Regions from separate parts of the Homo sapiens genome. Here all the other regions are linked to region 1. Evidence: promoter capture Hi-C in human tissues and cell types (Jung and others, 2019). All regions are on one chromosome and are shown on one strand. Each heading gives the region's core, a stretch centred on a gene start or on the middle of the fragment in contact. The rest is flanking DNA. Distances are from core to core; before and after follow the strand shown.

Region 1 (4,823 bases), core at 1,523-4,022:
AAACAAAACAAAACAAAACAAAACACAAAACAAAACAAAGGGAAAGTGAGGCCTTTGGGCAGTGAGGAGGTCATGAGGACAGAAGAAGACACAGCCCTCATAAATAGGATGGATGAGTCCCCTTGTAAAAGAGGCCCAAGAGCACTCATCCACCCCTTCCACCATGTGTGAACACAGTGAGAAAGTACCATCTATGAAACAGAAAGCTGGCTCTCACCAGACGCCAACTCTGCCAGCACCTTAATATTGGACTTCCCAGCCTCCAGAACTGTGAGAAATAAATTCTGTTTGTAAACCACACAGTTTACAGTATTTTGTTATATTAATAGCATCCCAGATGGACTAAGACAACCCCTAATACCCACTACTACTTATTTCCTTACAACTTTCAACAATGAAAAGGGTAGAAATAAATGAAAGATTTAGGAGGTACATCAGGTGGAACTTCCTGACTCCAAGGAGGTAAAGAATTCAAAGAGGCTGTTGTAGATCCTTTTTCAGGAAAGCTATAAGGCAAAGGGACACCCTGCCCCCACCCCGCCCACTTGGACTGGGCACACTCCTGCCTAGAGGCAGGGGGAGGCACCAAACGACCTCCAGAGGGCCCTGCTAGCCCAGGAAGCTGGGAGCCTCTGGTGCAGCCGCTGCTTGGCCGCAGATGTTCCCTGTCATCAATCACACAGTGCATCTGTTTGCTGTGCCGCTTGTTTAAAGAGTGAGGCGTTTGCTAATTGAAAACTAAAAGATCCATCCGTCTCACTCACAGCCAGCATGAAATCCACTCAGCCATGTAAGATTGGGGTAAAAAAGGCAGCGCAGAGCTACAGTGTCCTTGGGTGGGTGCACCTTATGGAGCTCATCTTCTTCCTGCTTCTGCCTCCTGATGAACAGGGCTCCCCTCCCCACCCCAGAGCAGCCAGAGATGGCCCATATTACCATTGTCTAACATGTCCTCATCTATTTTTCTCAGTAAAGCTCAGAGATCGTTATTTTTAGTCCCCACTTAAAAATGGAGAAACTGAGACTTCGCGAGATCAAGCAATTTAGGCAAGCCCACACAACAGGTAGGTGACCAAGGCGGGACACCAATCCAGGTGCTCTGGCTAGTCTGACCCATCCCTGAACCTATGTAGAGGTGCTGAGTTGGGAGGTACCAAATATCTCCTTATGTGGATTAAACCTAGGAAAGAATGGTCCAAGGGTATACAAGGGAAACACTGGGATGTCAACCATATCTGTAATGGCTGATCCCTTAAAGGCAATTATGGCAACATTCTAGGACTCCTATTGGTGTAATATCTCCCTATAGAGCCTGCAGGCAAATGGAGGCCAGTCCAGATCAGCAAGATCCAGGGGCAGGAGCTGGGAAGAGTCATGGTGGGGTGAGGTGGGGAGCCCACAGCTTCCTCTGCTCCCGTGCCTCCAGAGATGGCTGCATTTGAGAGAGGTGCTGTTTTGTGCCTCTGGAGAGGGGGACGGTTCAGTGCTGGACTCTGTGGGATTTGCAAGGACACTCCATCTCTCTGGGACTCAGTTCTCCCTTCTGAGGTGAGGCGGAATTGGATGAATGTTAAGGTCCTTTCCAGCCCTCACTTTCTATAATTGTGTGTGTCATTGGAGGAAATGCTGAGATGAAGTTAATCCTTGTGGCCCAGAGAGGCTGGATTCCAGCCATGCAGGGCCGACTCCCTGCTCTGCAGAGTCAGTCCTCTGCCCCTGCTCTTCCCTCTCCCTGGAGTGTTGTGCCACCTTCTCCCCTTGGGAACTGGTGTTGCTCCTTCAATGCCCGGTTCCTGTAAAGTCTCGCTTTTTTGTGCTTCACAGCACCTGTTTAAGCCTCAGTTATTTCCCTGGGGGTCCCCTCTCTGGATTGCCAGGGTGCGGGATCAGGGGCCTGGTTTTCTTTCTGTGTGTGACTTCTGAATCTGACACAGAATCTGGCAAACTGAGGACAGTTGGTAACTAATTGCTGCAGAAGAAAGAAAAGAAAGAGAAAGAAAGAAAAAGAAAGGAAGGAAGAAAGAAAGAAAGAAAGGAAAGAAAGAAAGAGAAAGAAAGAAAGAAAGAAAGAAAGAAAGAAAGAAAGAAAGAAAGAAAGAAAGAAAAGAAAAGAAAAGAAAGAAAAGGAGAGAGGAAGAAAAGGGGAGAAGAACGAGGTTCCTCTGCAGCCCAAATGACAGTGGGCAGGGTAGCAGCGGAACACCCTTCACCACTCTATCTCTTTCTCCCTCTCCCCACTCCCTGCCTCACACACCTCAGTTTGGAGTCAAGGGTGAGCTGGAACCCCTGAGGCCTCCTTTTGCATTTCCATGTCAGGTCAACTCCAAACAGGCTTTTTCCTTTGGATGAGTCCAGCAATAGAACTGACTACATAGATTCCAAGACCTGAAGTCAGAAAACGGATGCGGACCTCTTCCAACACCTCCTCTCCTTGCCTGACTTGCTGGATGGGTGGTGCCTCCCGCAACCCTTGGCTTCTGAGTCCTCAAAGGAGAAGACTGGCGAGCAGACGGTGAGGACCCAGCCTGCAATCACAGCTTATTACTCTGGGTGTGGGTGGGAGCGCAGTGGGCGGTCGAGGGTTGCGTTCCCGCCTCAAAACAAGGGATGGCGGAATCCCCCAACCCCTCCTACCCGTTCAGGCCGGGGATCGCCGAGGAGGTACAGCTCCTTTGGTGGGGGGCGGGGGCGGGGCCTGTCTCAGGGGCGGGGACCGGGGCACCTCCCTCCCGCGCTCCCCGCGCTCGGGCGCCGCAGAGCTGTCCAGCTTCAGTGCCGAACCGGCAGCCTCACGCGCGCACCGCGCCGCCTCCGCCCCGTCCCCGCGCTCCCTCCTGCCCGCCCGCCCCGCGCCCGGCCCCGCCCCGCCCCGCCCCGCCGCGGCCCGTCCACTGCTCCCCGCGGGCCAGAGCCGGCCGAGCTGCTGCCCGCCGGGGCTCTGAACGGCGCGGCGGGGCCGGGAGCCAGGGACCGGCCGAGGAGAGTGGCGGCCCCGGACGGCTGCCGGAGGGGCGGCCGCGCGTGGATGCGGCGGGAGCTGGAAGCCTCAAGCAGCCGGCGCCGTCTCTGCCCCCGGGCGCCCTATGGCTTGAAGGTAAGCACCGGCCGGATGGAGCGGCGGGCGACTCAGTGTCACGGGGAGAGGAGGAGGGACCTCCAAGGGGAGCGAGGCCAGGACCAGAAGTTTGTGCGGCCACTCCTGGCCGCCTGCTCGGGAGCGCCCGCCTGGGATCCGGCTCTGCATGGGCTCCCCGTCGGGCGGGGGCAGAGGGCGTCTGGAGCCCGCGGCTGCTATCCCCTCTCCCTCCTTCTCAGTAGCCTCCTCGCCACTTAGAAGGGAATCCTCTCCCCGAGCACGAGCGGGCGCAGCTGGGGCAGCCTCCCCGCGGGGCGCCCAGGGCAGCACGGCGGAGCCGCGGCATCGGAGGGCGGGAGGGAGGCCGCTCCCCACAATCTCGGGAGGGCACTTCCCCCAGCACCCAAGCGCGAGACCCGGGGCTCGCGGCCAGAGTTTCCGACTTCTTCCGGAGGAAGAAGGGCTGTTTTTGGCAACTCTGTGTTGGTGCGACCTGACCCTTTTCAGTTTCTAAGGCAGAAGCTAAGGATGGGGGAGAGGCAGATTCTGGCTGGATTCTCCCGCTCCCACGGTTGCCGCTGTCCTTGGTCCTGAACTTTCGTTCTCCTTCGCCTTCTCTTGGGTTGACACCTAGTCGGGGAGGGAGGCTTGGGTGCCAGACCCGTTTCTACCCGGCAGTGCAGGCGACGGTGGCGGCAGTAGCGGAGGGTGACCGCCCGGCTCTCGGCCCGGCTCTATGATGGACCGAGAGCCCCTCTAGGGTGGTATGCGGAGACAAGAGACACCTCTAAGCACCAGACAGAGCGCTTCCCTATCCCTGTCTGAGGCGGGCAGCCCTTGAGTGCTTCCTCTTGAAGAGCAGAGGTAAGAGGGTGCGTGTGCGTCTACATAACAGGCTTCACCATGGACACAAGTCACAGCAGTGCAGCTCCGTGGGGACAGGCGCTTGCTCTCAGCCACAAGGAAGCTGTCTGAGCAAGTCACTGTTGCCCCACCTGACACCCCACTACTTTTTTTTCGGTGGCTCTTGAGGTTGGGTGAGGGGGTGAGGGAGTGAGGTGCAAGGCACTTTGTGGATCCCACTCCAGATCCTTCTGCAGATCCAAGCCTTTCTGTATTTTGACCAGGCTACAAACCTTTTAGGCCAATCCTTGCTCCTCCTTAGGGAGCTAGATGTTCAACGATTCTCCCCACTCCCACCCTGCTTCAAATGCAAATATGCATGCTTATCTCTGATTCATCCTGCAGCATTAGGACCACTTGAAAAAGAAATCATGCTTATCGTCTTTCCCTCATGCAGCTGTTTGATGAGGGTGGCCAGATAGAGAGACTGTGGTCAGCATGACCAGTTTCAAGAAAATCAGCAAGCTGCTTTCCTGGGTTTCAGTCCCTGCCTTGGACTTCCCTCCTTAGTGTTCAAAATTCCTGGATTATTTGTTGCAGGGGGTTTTGATGCCATCTCTGAATGCAGACATCTGACAAGGAAGTGGTTTGGGAGGGTTAGACCTAGAACCAAATGAGGGCCAGGGTAGTCCCAGCTCTTAAAGATCATTGAGTTCCTTCTACCTTCCCTGCACAGCCTGAGGTGCCCAGAAAGTGGAGAGGTTCTGATTTGTTGTAGAAGTCCGGGCAGCATTTCTCTAAGGGTTTTTTTCTTTTTAATGAATTCCCTGAGAAGCTGGTTAAAAATGCGTATTTTTGCTTCTTCCTTGAAAAACTGCTGAATGAGAATCTCAAGCGGAGGCCC
Region 2 (4,823 bases), core at 1-2,500, 150 kb after region 1:
AGATGCTGTCCTTACCTGAGTTTATTTCTTCTGCACTCTGTAGACGTAGGTTACCATAAAAACAAAGAAACAAATTTCAAAAACCACTCTAATTTATATGTATATAAACCAAGAAGGCAAATCAATTACAAACAAGAGGTCATTTCTTTTAACCATCAAAACTGAAGGGCTCAGAATTCATGGGGCTTGCTTTAAATCAGGAGATCTGAGTATGGGCACAATTGCTATGGGACCGAGTCTGCAAAACAAGGCTGCCCAGGTCAAGGGACCTCAGCTGTGGCTTATGAGTTGGAAATGAGTTAGAATACATTACCTTAAAGGTACAGCTTAAATATATCACACAAGCTCAGGGGGTGGAGAGGGGAAATTTCCATTAAAATAGATCCAAAGGGTTGTTTAAAGATAACCCAGAAAGATCAAAGGAAAAAAAAAATCAAATTTTATACTTTCTTATAAAAAATAAATCTAAGAAACAAAAGACCATTTCAGCCTTGCTGGACAGTTTGAGATTAAACTACTGCCTAGGTGTAGGTCTTCTCACTGTAAGTACTTATATAACTTCTCAATAGAAAAAGAAACCTTCATAGCAGTTTGTGGAGGACTGATCATAGTCTTGTTCAAGGTGGTCCTGCATTCATCCTCCTCCTGGTCTTCCTCCATAAGCAGTAGTCTCTTTTCTGTCTCCAGGACAGCTTTCTGTTGCACAACTGGGTCATCAGAATTCATCTCCTGAATTAAATTGGCTAGAGAAGAAATCAGGTGTGACTTAATCAAACAAGATATTCAAAAGACTCTATTCACTAGAAAGGATGGTGCATAAAATGCATGGGAAAGATCTTAAAGAAAAAAATAGAGCAATAGAAAGCAAAATAGAGCAAGCAGAACCAATGAGAAAAAATTAACAACAGGTTTTTTTTTTTTTTTTTTTGCCTAGAAAAAGTTGCAGGTGAGTATAGCTATTAGCTTTAAGGAACAGAGTTTTAAGCCATTATTCAATTCAACAATAATTTATGGAGAGCTCATTATGAGTTAGATATTATGCTGATGCTATAGATAACAATGATGAATAAAAAAAGATCCTTTTTTGAAGAGTTTATGAACTTGTGTGGGAGACAAACATGTAAGTACAGGCAGCTCAAAATCGCAAAACAGCAGCCCTTAACCCTATCCTCACCTGTCTTCACTTTACTGCTTATCCAGCTTAGATTCCATGGTCAATCACTCAGCAGCCATCCTGCCCATATACTCAACTCCCTTGCCCTGCTATCTCACCTAACAGACAAAATTCCAGCTCTACATAATTCCAATTACCCAATTCTACCAGTCTGCATTAGGAATGCTATGTACTGAGGGAGACAGATAGATGCCTGGGGGACTGGTCCAAACTCAAACTCAACTGGACCTTCAGTGATGCCCAGCAATCCTTGTTATCCTGGGCAAGATATCCTGTCACTCCCCCAATGACTTTTAACAGTTTGCAATCTAAACCTGACCATCTCAAAAAGATGCCCTTATTTATCAATTCAGAGAGGAAAGAGATGCCATCGACTTCCTGCTATTAAAACTACAAAACTGCCTATACCTACATCCATCCTTCCTTACTACCAGGAAAAGGTGCCCATTCTTCTGTAAGGTTAGTCCCTCATCCTGGGCCCAGGATTCCATTGTCATATTTTGCATAATCAGGAACGCTGCATCACCAATTAATAATCCTATTGCGCAATATTTTCAACCTATTCCATTCGACCAGCTTCCTTCTAAATTATGTACTTTAAATCTCTCCTAATGCTCTGTCTCCTCCCCTTCACAATTAAACTTCTTAATTCATTTTCCTGTTCTAATTTCTTCATTTCCCACTGAGTCTTCAAGGAAATTATAAATTTTTAATTGTACAATATTTCAAGCATACCGAAAGTAATATAATATTTTTGTTTCTATGCCATTTATAAGTTGATGGTATCTTTTCTCCAGCATGCTTTAATACTTAGTATTTGTATCATTTAGATTTTGCTGCATCACACACCACATCAAAACTTAGTGGTTTGAAACAAACCACCATTTTTGTGGCTTAGTTTACAATTATCTATGTCAACAATTTGAGCTGAATTCAGCTGGCCAGTTCTGGTTTCAGCTGGACTCACACATATATCCATGGTCAACTGTCAGTCATCTAAGTGGCTCTGCTTTAGAAAGTCTGCTGGCTGTTGGCTTGAGAAATGCAAGCAACCCGGGTAAGTGTGTCTTACTTTCTCATGAGTGGTATGAGTGCAAGCCCTAATTCAAATGCACTTTTCAAGCCTCTGCTTGTGTCATGTTTGCAAACATCCTTTTGGCCAAAGCAACACACATGGCCAACCCAGATTCAAGTGGCAGAGAAATAGGCTCCACTCTTGATGGGAAGAAAGGAATTTGTAACCATTCTTGCAATCTACCAGAATATTTGTGTATGTAATATTTAAACAATTTTTTAAAATAGTTGTATAAAATGTGCATTCATTTGCAACCTACTTTTTTCTCTTAAGATGCTTTAGAGATGTGTTCTTGATACACATGGTTCCAGTTGATTCATTTAAACCATTATATATACCATAGTTAATCCATTCTCTTATTGATAGCCAGGTGGTTTTTCAGTTTTTTCTAAAGTAAATAAATGCTGAATTGAATACCTGTATGTACATATTTCCTTGTGCACATGTTACATATCCTTCAGGATATGGCTGTACCAATTTTTACTCCTACAAAAGAGTACAAGAGGAAGTTCCCATTCTTCTACATTCTTATCATCACTTGCTGGGTTAAACTTTTTAATTGTTGTCAATGTAATGGATGGGAATGGTATCTCATTGTTTTAATTTGCATTTCGCTGAATTTGATTGGAATTGAGCATCTTCTTATTGATTTGCACCCATTTGGATTTCTACGAAGAGCCTACTCCTATCCTTGGCCAATTTTCTATTGGGTCATTGTCTCTTTCTTATTAGTTAATATAATTTCTTTTTTAAAAAATTCTTTTTTTTTTAAGAGATGGTCTTGCTATGTTGTCCAGGCTCGATTTGAACCCCTGGGCTCAAGCGATCCTCCTGCTTCAGCCTCCTGAGTAGCAAAGACTACAGGCACACACCACCATGCCTGGTTGATTTGATTGTGAAACAGGGGAGTTCTCTGATCCCCCTCGCAGGACATGCGACAGGGGTGTGGCTTGCCTGTTTAGTCACCACCACTGCTCAAACCCCTGAGGGGAGGGGGAGAACGCAGACGGACAAGTGCAGGAGCCCAGTTGGGCACGTGTTACAGCGTGTCCTTTTAGCCCTGCCATCTGCGGACGACTTGATTGTTAACCAGCTTGACGGACATCTGCCTTTTCACAAGGGCAGAGGGAAGTGACAGCTTTTTGTATCCCGAGCTCTTGCCCAGCATCCCCGGAAGAATCAGGTCACACACAGGACTAAAGGATGAATGTGGGGTTTTACTGAGTGGTGGAGGTGGCTTTCAGTGGGATGGATGGGGAGCTGGAAGGGGGAATGGAGGGGAAAGATGATCTTCCCCTGGAGCCTGGCCATCCAGTGGCCCAACTCCCCTCTGGCTGCTCCCAGCCAAACTCCTCTCGGCGTTCAGACATTCCTCCTCTTTTCTCTACTGTGTCGTTCTGCCATTTGTCTGCTTGTGTCCTCATCTCACCTGCTCGTCTGCTTCTGGAGCCTGGGGTTCAGAGTTTACATGGGCACAGGATAGGGGAGCATGGCAGGCCAAAAGGCAACTTTTTGGGCACGAAAACAGAAATGCCTGTTTCCACTTAGCGCTGCAGATCTCCCGGCTTGAGGGTGGGGTCTTTGCCAGGGAACCACCCTCTTCTATCCACTATTCCCATCTCCTACCCGTATCAGTTGTATATATTCTGGACTGGTTACATGTATTTCCAAACATCTTCCCCTTGGGTATTCTTTGTCTTTTCATTTGTTTTTATGGAATATGTTGTTGAAGAGATTTTCTTTTTAATTTTAGTGTGTTAAATATACCATCTTTTCCTTTACAATTTAGGTCTTTTGTGTCAGTAAGGTTATAAATATACTCTCTTATGGTGTCTTATAAAAGTTTTAAAGTTTTTTTCTTACTAAGGTATGTAATTCACCTAGAGTTGACTTTCACGTAGGGCAGGAGCATTATTTGTTGAGAAGTCCCTGCCAGCAATGTGTCTCATCATCCCTGTTATGTGTGCAAATCTTCTCCAGGCTCTTCATTCCTTTCCCCTGATTGTCCTTTCCAGCACGAAAACCTCCATGCATTGATTACTATGGCTTTATAATAAATCTTGAATGTCAGGTAGGGAAAGTTGTCCTGCTTTTTTTTTTTTTCCTGCAGAGTTTTCTTGGCTCTTCTTGGTCCTTTGCTCTTCCACGTAAACTTTGGAATCAGCTTGCTGAATTTTAGTACATACTACTTTGCGGGTTTTGATCTAAATTGTATTTACTGCATAGAATATTTTAAAAATTGACATTTTTACCAAATAAGTCTTCCTAGGATTAAATACGTCTCCATTTATTTAGCTCTTCTTTCATGTCTTTTAATTAACTTTTTTTTAAATTAACTCAACTGCACACTTTATTCTAATTTCATTGTTTTTTCTCCCTAATGCCCTTTTCCTATTCCAGGATCCCATCCAGAACACTACACGACATTTAGTCATGTCTCCTTAGGCTTCTCTAGGCTGCGACAATTTCTCACCCTTTCCTTATTTTGATGACCTTGACAGTTTTGATGACCTTGACATTCTATGAGTTTGCATAGAATACCTTGCAATTTGGGTTTATCTGGTATTTTTCTCA
Region 3 (4,823 bases), core at 628-3,127, 150 kb before region 1:
GCTGCCTTGCCCCTTCCACCAAGTGAGGGCATAGTGGGAAAGTGTCATCTATGAACCAGAAAGTTAGCCCTCTTCAGATGTCAAATCTGCAGGAGCCTTGACCTTGGACTTCCCAGCTTCCAGAACTGTAAGAAATAAATTTCTGTGGTTTCTAAGCCACCAGAATATGGTATTTTGTTATAACTGTCTGAGCAGACTAAGACATCGATTCACAAGCAACATGGACAAAGGCTGGAGGGGTTAGCGAATGTGAAACCCTCTAGAGCAGGAGCTGGGGCTGAGGAGGAGAAGCAGGTAGGTGCTCTAGGTCGCCCTCAGAGTACCCCTCTCTCCTCGCCACCACCTGCAGGCTCCTCAGGGATGCTCTTCCTCCAGCCATGGGCCCTTCAGACAAGAAACGTGCTGCCCCTGCCTTTCTACCCACCTTTTCTCCACAAGAAGTGCCCAGAGAGCTCCAAGCATTGAAAGGCAAGTGTCCTGTGGAGGTTTCCTCTGGACCCCTGGCTGCTTTTCAAAACATATAGGAAAAGACTCTAATACATTTAACTTTGAATATTTACCTAAACATCCCAAAATTTTGATTCTCACTGGCTGCTCTGAAGTGTTTGGTCCACAGTGAGCCATTTTCCATACTCAGTGAGTGCAGGTGCTGGACAGGCTGTTTCCATGAACCAAGTTGACAGTCTAAGAGCAAGAGGCATGGGTGCCTGTCTGCCTGTTGAAACCCTCTTCCAAAGACCACTGGGAAACCATGCTCCCTCTTTCATGGCATGTTTAATAATGCTTAAAACAATGCTCTTTCTTTCACGGCATGAGGGAGCATTGTTTTGACAGAGACTCAGTGGTGGCTCAAAATGGGGAAGTTAATGGGTTTTTGTGATAGAGTGGTCATAGGGTAGAAATTTGTGAGTGAAGTCTGGACTGGGGTTGGTCAGAATTTATAAACAAAGTGAATTTCTGGAATAGTCAGGGGTCTTGTCTCTAAAGCCTGAGTCCAGAGTCACTGCTGAATCCTTTTCCCCGTGGTCTTGGCATCAAGCCTCTGTGCATACAACACACCAGTGTGCTGGTCTTAAAGTAGTTTGATCTTTGCTGGTGTTGCAAGATATGGTTTGATACAATTAATCTATTTTGCAGGTCATAATACAGTTTTGCAGTTTGTAGTTTCAGTTGTATTTCTTACTTCAGAGGAAAGGAGAATAAATCTCCAAAGAGCTGCCTCTCCTCTTATTTAGTCCAGGAACAAATCCCTAATGGAAGCAAGAATGAACATTTGTTTCCACTGGGAATGTCCCATCATTCACTGCCTCCTCATGCTCCACCAAAGTTTCAATCTTCTGGCTGAGTCAGGGATCTTCGACAACCTGGCCTCCACCATCCACCACCCCCGATCATCACTTACCACCTCCATTAACATAACCCAACTTTCATCACCATCACCCACCATCACCCTGCCCACTTCCATGGCCCACCCCATCACCAACCCCACCACTCCCAACCAGTACCACTTATAAAACAAGCACTGTGTGCCAGGAACTGTGCTATGTGGGTTTGCCATGCTCATTTTATTTCATCTCCATTCCAGCTTTTTGATGTGAATTAGTGGTTCTTAACTAGAAAGATATTGATGCCTGGCTTCTCGCCCAGAAGTACTGAATCAGAAGTTGTTGAATTAGGGCACAGGAATCTGTATCTTACAAATATTTCAAATGATTTTGATGCACAGATAACATTTGAGAACCACAGATGTAAACAATATTATCTTTGTTATACAGATGGGCCAAGGGAGAGGAGATTAAAAATGATTTCCCTTGCAATTCTAAGAAAGGCTATTTTGAAGATGTTTGGGGAATAGTCTTAAAGAACCAAGAACAGTGGCTGGGCACAGTGGCTCATGCCTATAATTCCAGCAATTTGGGAGGCCGAGACAGGAGAATTGCTTGAGCCCAGGAGTTCAAGACCAGTCTTGGCAACATAGTGCAAACCCATCTCTACCAAAAATACGAAAATTGGCCAGTCTCAAAAACCAGTCTCAGAATAAATAAATAAATAGATTAAAATTAAAAAATAAAAAATTATATTAGAAAAAGAATCAAGAAGAAATAATTACTTCTGTTTAATGAACAGCGAATCTATTGTTGATTTCATTTTACAGAGGAAGGAACTGAAGCCCAGAAAGGTTAGATCAATTTCCTAAGGTCACATAGCTCATGAGGGGAGAACCTGGGTTCAGAAGCAGATCCTCCTGACCCCACATGCTGTGCTCTTTACTGGATACCACGGTGGTCTCCAGGAAGCCCCTCTCAGGGTGGCCTACGTGTTTCTTTGTTTTACAGACATACTGACCATATTTCAGCTTCTACACCTTGGAAACACAGTTTTCCCTCCAAGAACGATGTCCTCTCTGCTGTCCTGGCTTTTTCAACCGTGGAGTGTCATTGTCACCTTCCTTCTTCCCCAGCAGCTCCTCTTAACACCCCAACAGGCCTCTGTCCTCCCTGGTACCCAGGCGTAAGATGTCAATATATTTTCTCTTTTTTTCCTTTTCTCCAGCTATACCTCCTTTTTCAATATATTTATTTCCCCTGTCTTTCTCCAATTTCACTGCTATTGCTCCAGGTCCTCACACTTTCTGAATCTTTGTAAAGCCCTCTAACTGGCTTATTGACACCTCCAGTTTCTTCCGCATGTTTTCCACCCTGCACTCAGTAAAAGATTTATCTTCTAAAAATGCTTTTGTTGTCACTCCTGGCTCCAAAACCCTATGAAGCCCTAACTGTTCATCCAAAGCCCTCCCCAAGAGGGGCAAGTCTACAGATTTATTAAAAAACAAATAAATTATAACAAACCTGATTTTGTTTTAAAATTCCTACACAAACAGCTAAGCAATTCTGACATTCTACTCAATATTTGGACTCTTACTGAAACACTAATGGATTCTCTTCAACACATGTCAGTGTTAAAAATCACAGTGAATGTGGACATAAACACATGCTCTAATTTTGTATAACACAACACATAATATTTATTGTTTCCTTTCTTAGAAATCAATTTATATGTAATTTCTGTGATTTTTGTAATATCTAGTTCAGTATCTAGCTCTCAAAATATCTAGTTCAGTATCTAGCTCTCAAAAGTATCTTTTATGTGTGCTCTTTGCTGCTTCAAGAAATAGTTTTTTTACTTTATGTCCCACTTGAGATAATATATCTAAACTAGTACAATCATATGTACTTACTCAAATCTAGTAAGTGTATAAATTAGGACCATTAATCCTAATGAGAAAGCTATAACCAACATTTATACATTTATATAAAAAGGAATCTTTAACTGGTTCAAGAAACACCTAAATACTGAATATATCACTAACACCCCCCTCAACCCTTGCAAATAATTAACTGTTGGATTACATTAACAATTCTCTAATTTCAGATATGATTTTCATTTCTGTTATAATGCAGGACTTTAATTCACGAGTTGTTAAATTAGTTTATAAACATAGTGTAAAAACCAACACACTTTAAATGCTATTTTCTGGCAGAACGCCATTCTGTGCATCAGAGTGACCCTGAGTAATATACGAGCAATTACTTTCACTCACTCTTGTCTCAAATGCTCAGAAAGTCTCACCTTTTTGACTTCCTGGGCTGAATTCCAGCCTGGAGTATGTGTTAGGGACAGTTATCTAGCCACTGAGATGAACAACCCTCAAATCTCAGTGGTTCATCACACAAAATTTTTGTTAATGGGATGTGTCTTATTCTATTGGGCAGCTTCACTCCAGGTGGTGTCTCAGGGACCCAGGCAGGCTCCTTTTTCCTTATGGCTCTGCTAACTGTTCAGGTGGGACATCTATTGTGGGACTTGCTGAGGACCAGGCCCAGAAGTGACACACATCATTTTCTCCTGTATCCTACAAGCCAAGACTTCAAAGCTTGGCCAACCTATGGCAAAGGATCTGGGAAATATTGAGGAGCACACAGATTCAGATGAGGACTACTAACTTCTAAAACAGAGCAGATAAGTTCACCTCTGAAGTGGGTTGGGAGAGTTGAGTATCATAGAATTAGGAAGACTTGGGAGCTAAGTTGGGAAGGTTCCACCTTCTAAGTCCTTTTTTTTTTCTCTTAGAGACGGGGTTTCTCTTTGTCACTGAGGCTGGAGTGTAGTAGTGTGATCATAATTCACTGTAGCCTCGACCTCCTAGGCTCAAGCGATCCTCCCATCTCAGCCTCCTGGGTAGGTAGGACTACAAGCATGTGCCACCACACTTGGCTAATTTTTAAATATTTTTAGAAATGGGGTCTCACTATGTTTCCTAGCCTGGTCTCAAGCTCTTGGCCTTAAGCGATACTTCTGCCTTGGCATCTCAAAGTGCTGGGATTACAGGCATGACCCACCATGCCTGGCCCATCTTCTAAGTCTTAATTAGAAGACTGAATTCCTTGGAGGTTCAAATAGGATGCCAGAAACCTGACTATCCAATCTGCAACCCATGGACCAAATGAAGTCTACCTAAGGGTTTTAAACAAACTTTATTTTATTCAATTAATAAATATGATACTCCTTAACGGAAAGAATAGTAGCATATGATGTTATGCTGAGAGGCTTAGATCAATTACGAATTGGATTTTAAATTGTACATGAGGGAATTTCAAACATTTTATGAAAAATGGAAATAAAAGATAAAAATTTAAAAAATATACTTTTTTTTTAAAACATAAACTCATTCAAGATTAAGATACTTTTGTAAGACATGATACCAGCCATTTTGTCTATCCCCAAAGAACTGAGGCTCCAGGGAATTTAACCATGCTAATGTA

What was found. The method cuts DNA at HindIII sites, captures the fragments that hold promoters and counts their contacts. A contact is called where the count stands out against the background at its distance.
Region 2: a fragment that was not itself captured here is called in contact with the fragment with the promoter of DRD2 in region 1 in 2 of the 25 tissues and cell types used here (bladder and mesenchymal stem cells).
Region 3: a fragment that was not itself captured here is called in contact with the fragment with the promoter of DRD2 in region 1 in 2 of the 25 tissues and cell types used here (H1 embryonic stem cells and adrenal gland).

The regions. Positions count from the first base shown.
Region 1 is chr11:113,473,347-113,478,169 of GRCh38, reverse strand. It overlaps DRD2 (dopamine receptor D2), which reads left to right and starts at 2,772. Exons shown (of 8, transcript NM_000795.4): 1 at 2,772-3,094. It overlaps LOC105369501 (a long non-coding RNA gene), which reads left to right. Exons shown (of 6, transcript XR_948024.2): 5 at 971-1,064; 6 at 2,317-2,641. The HindIII fragment of the contact is 27,627 bases long and covers 1-4,823 here.
Region 2 is chr11:113,319,208-113,324,030 of GRCh38, reverse strand. It overlaps TTC12 (tetratricopeptide repeat domain 12), which reads right to left. Exons shown (of 22, transcript NM_017868.4): 3 at 580-743; 4 at 16-37. Among named protein-coding and RNA genes, the nearest start is that of TTC12, 7.0 kb to the right of the region's middle. The HindIII fragment of the contact is 4,616 bases long and covers 1-3,558 here.
Region 3 is chr11:113,620,210-113,625,032 of GRCh38, reverse strand. The region is part of intron 1 of LOC107984390 (a long non-coding RNA gene); the gene reads left to right. Among named protein-coding and RNA genes, the nearest start is that of TMPRSS5, 84 kb to the left of the region's middle. The HindIII fragment of the contact is 9,626 bases long and covers 1-4,823 here.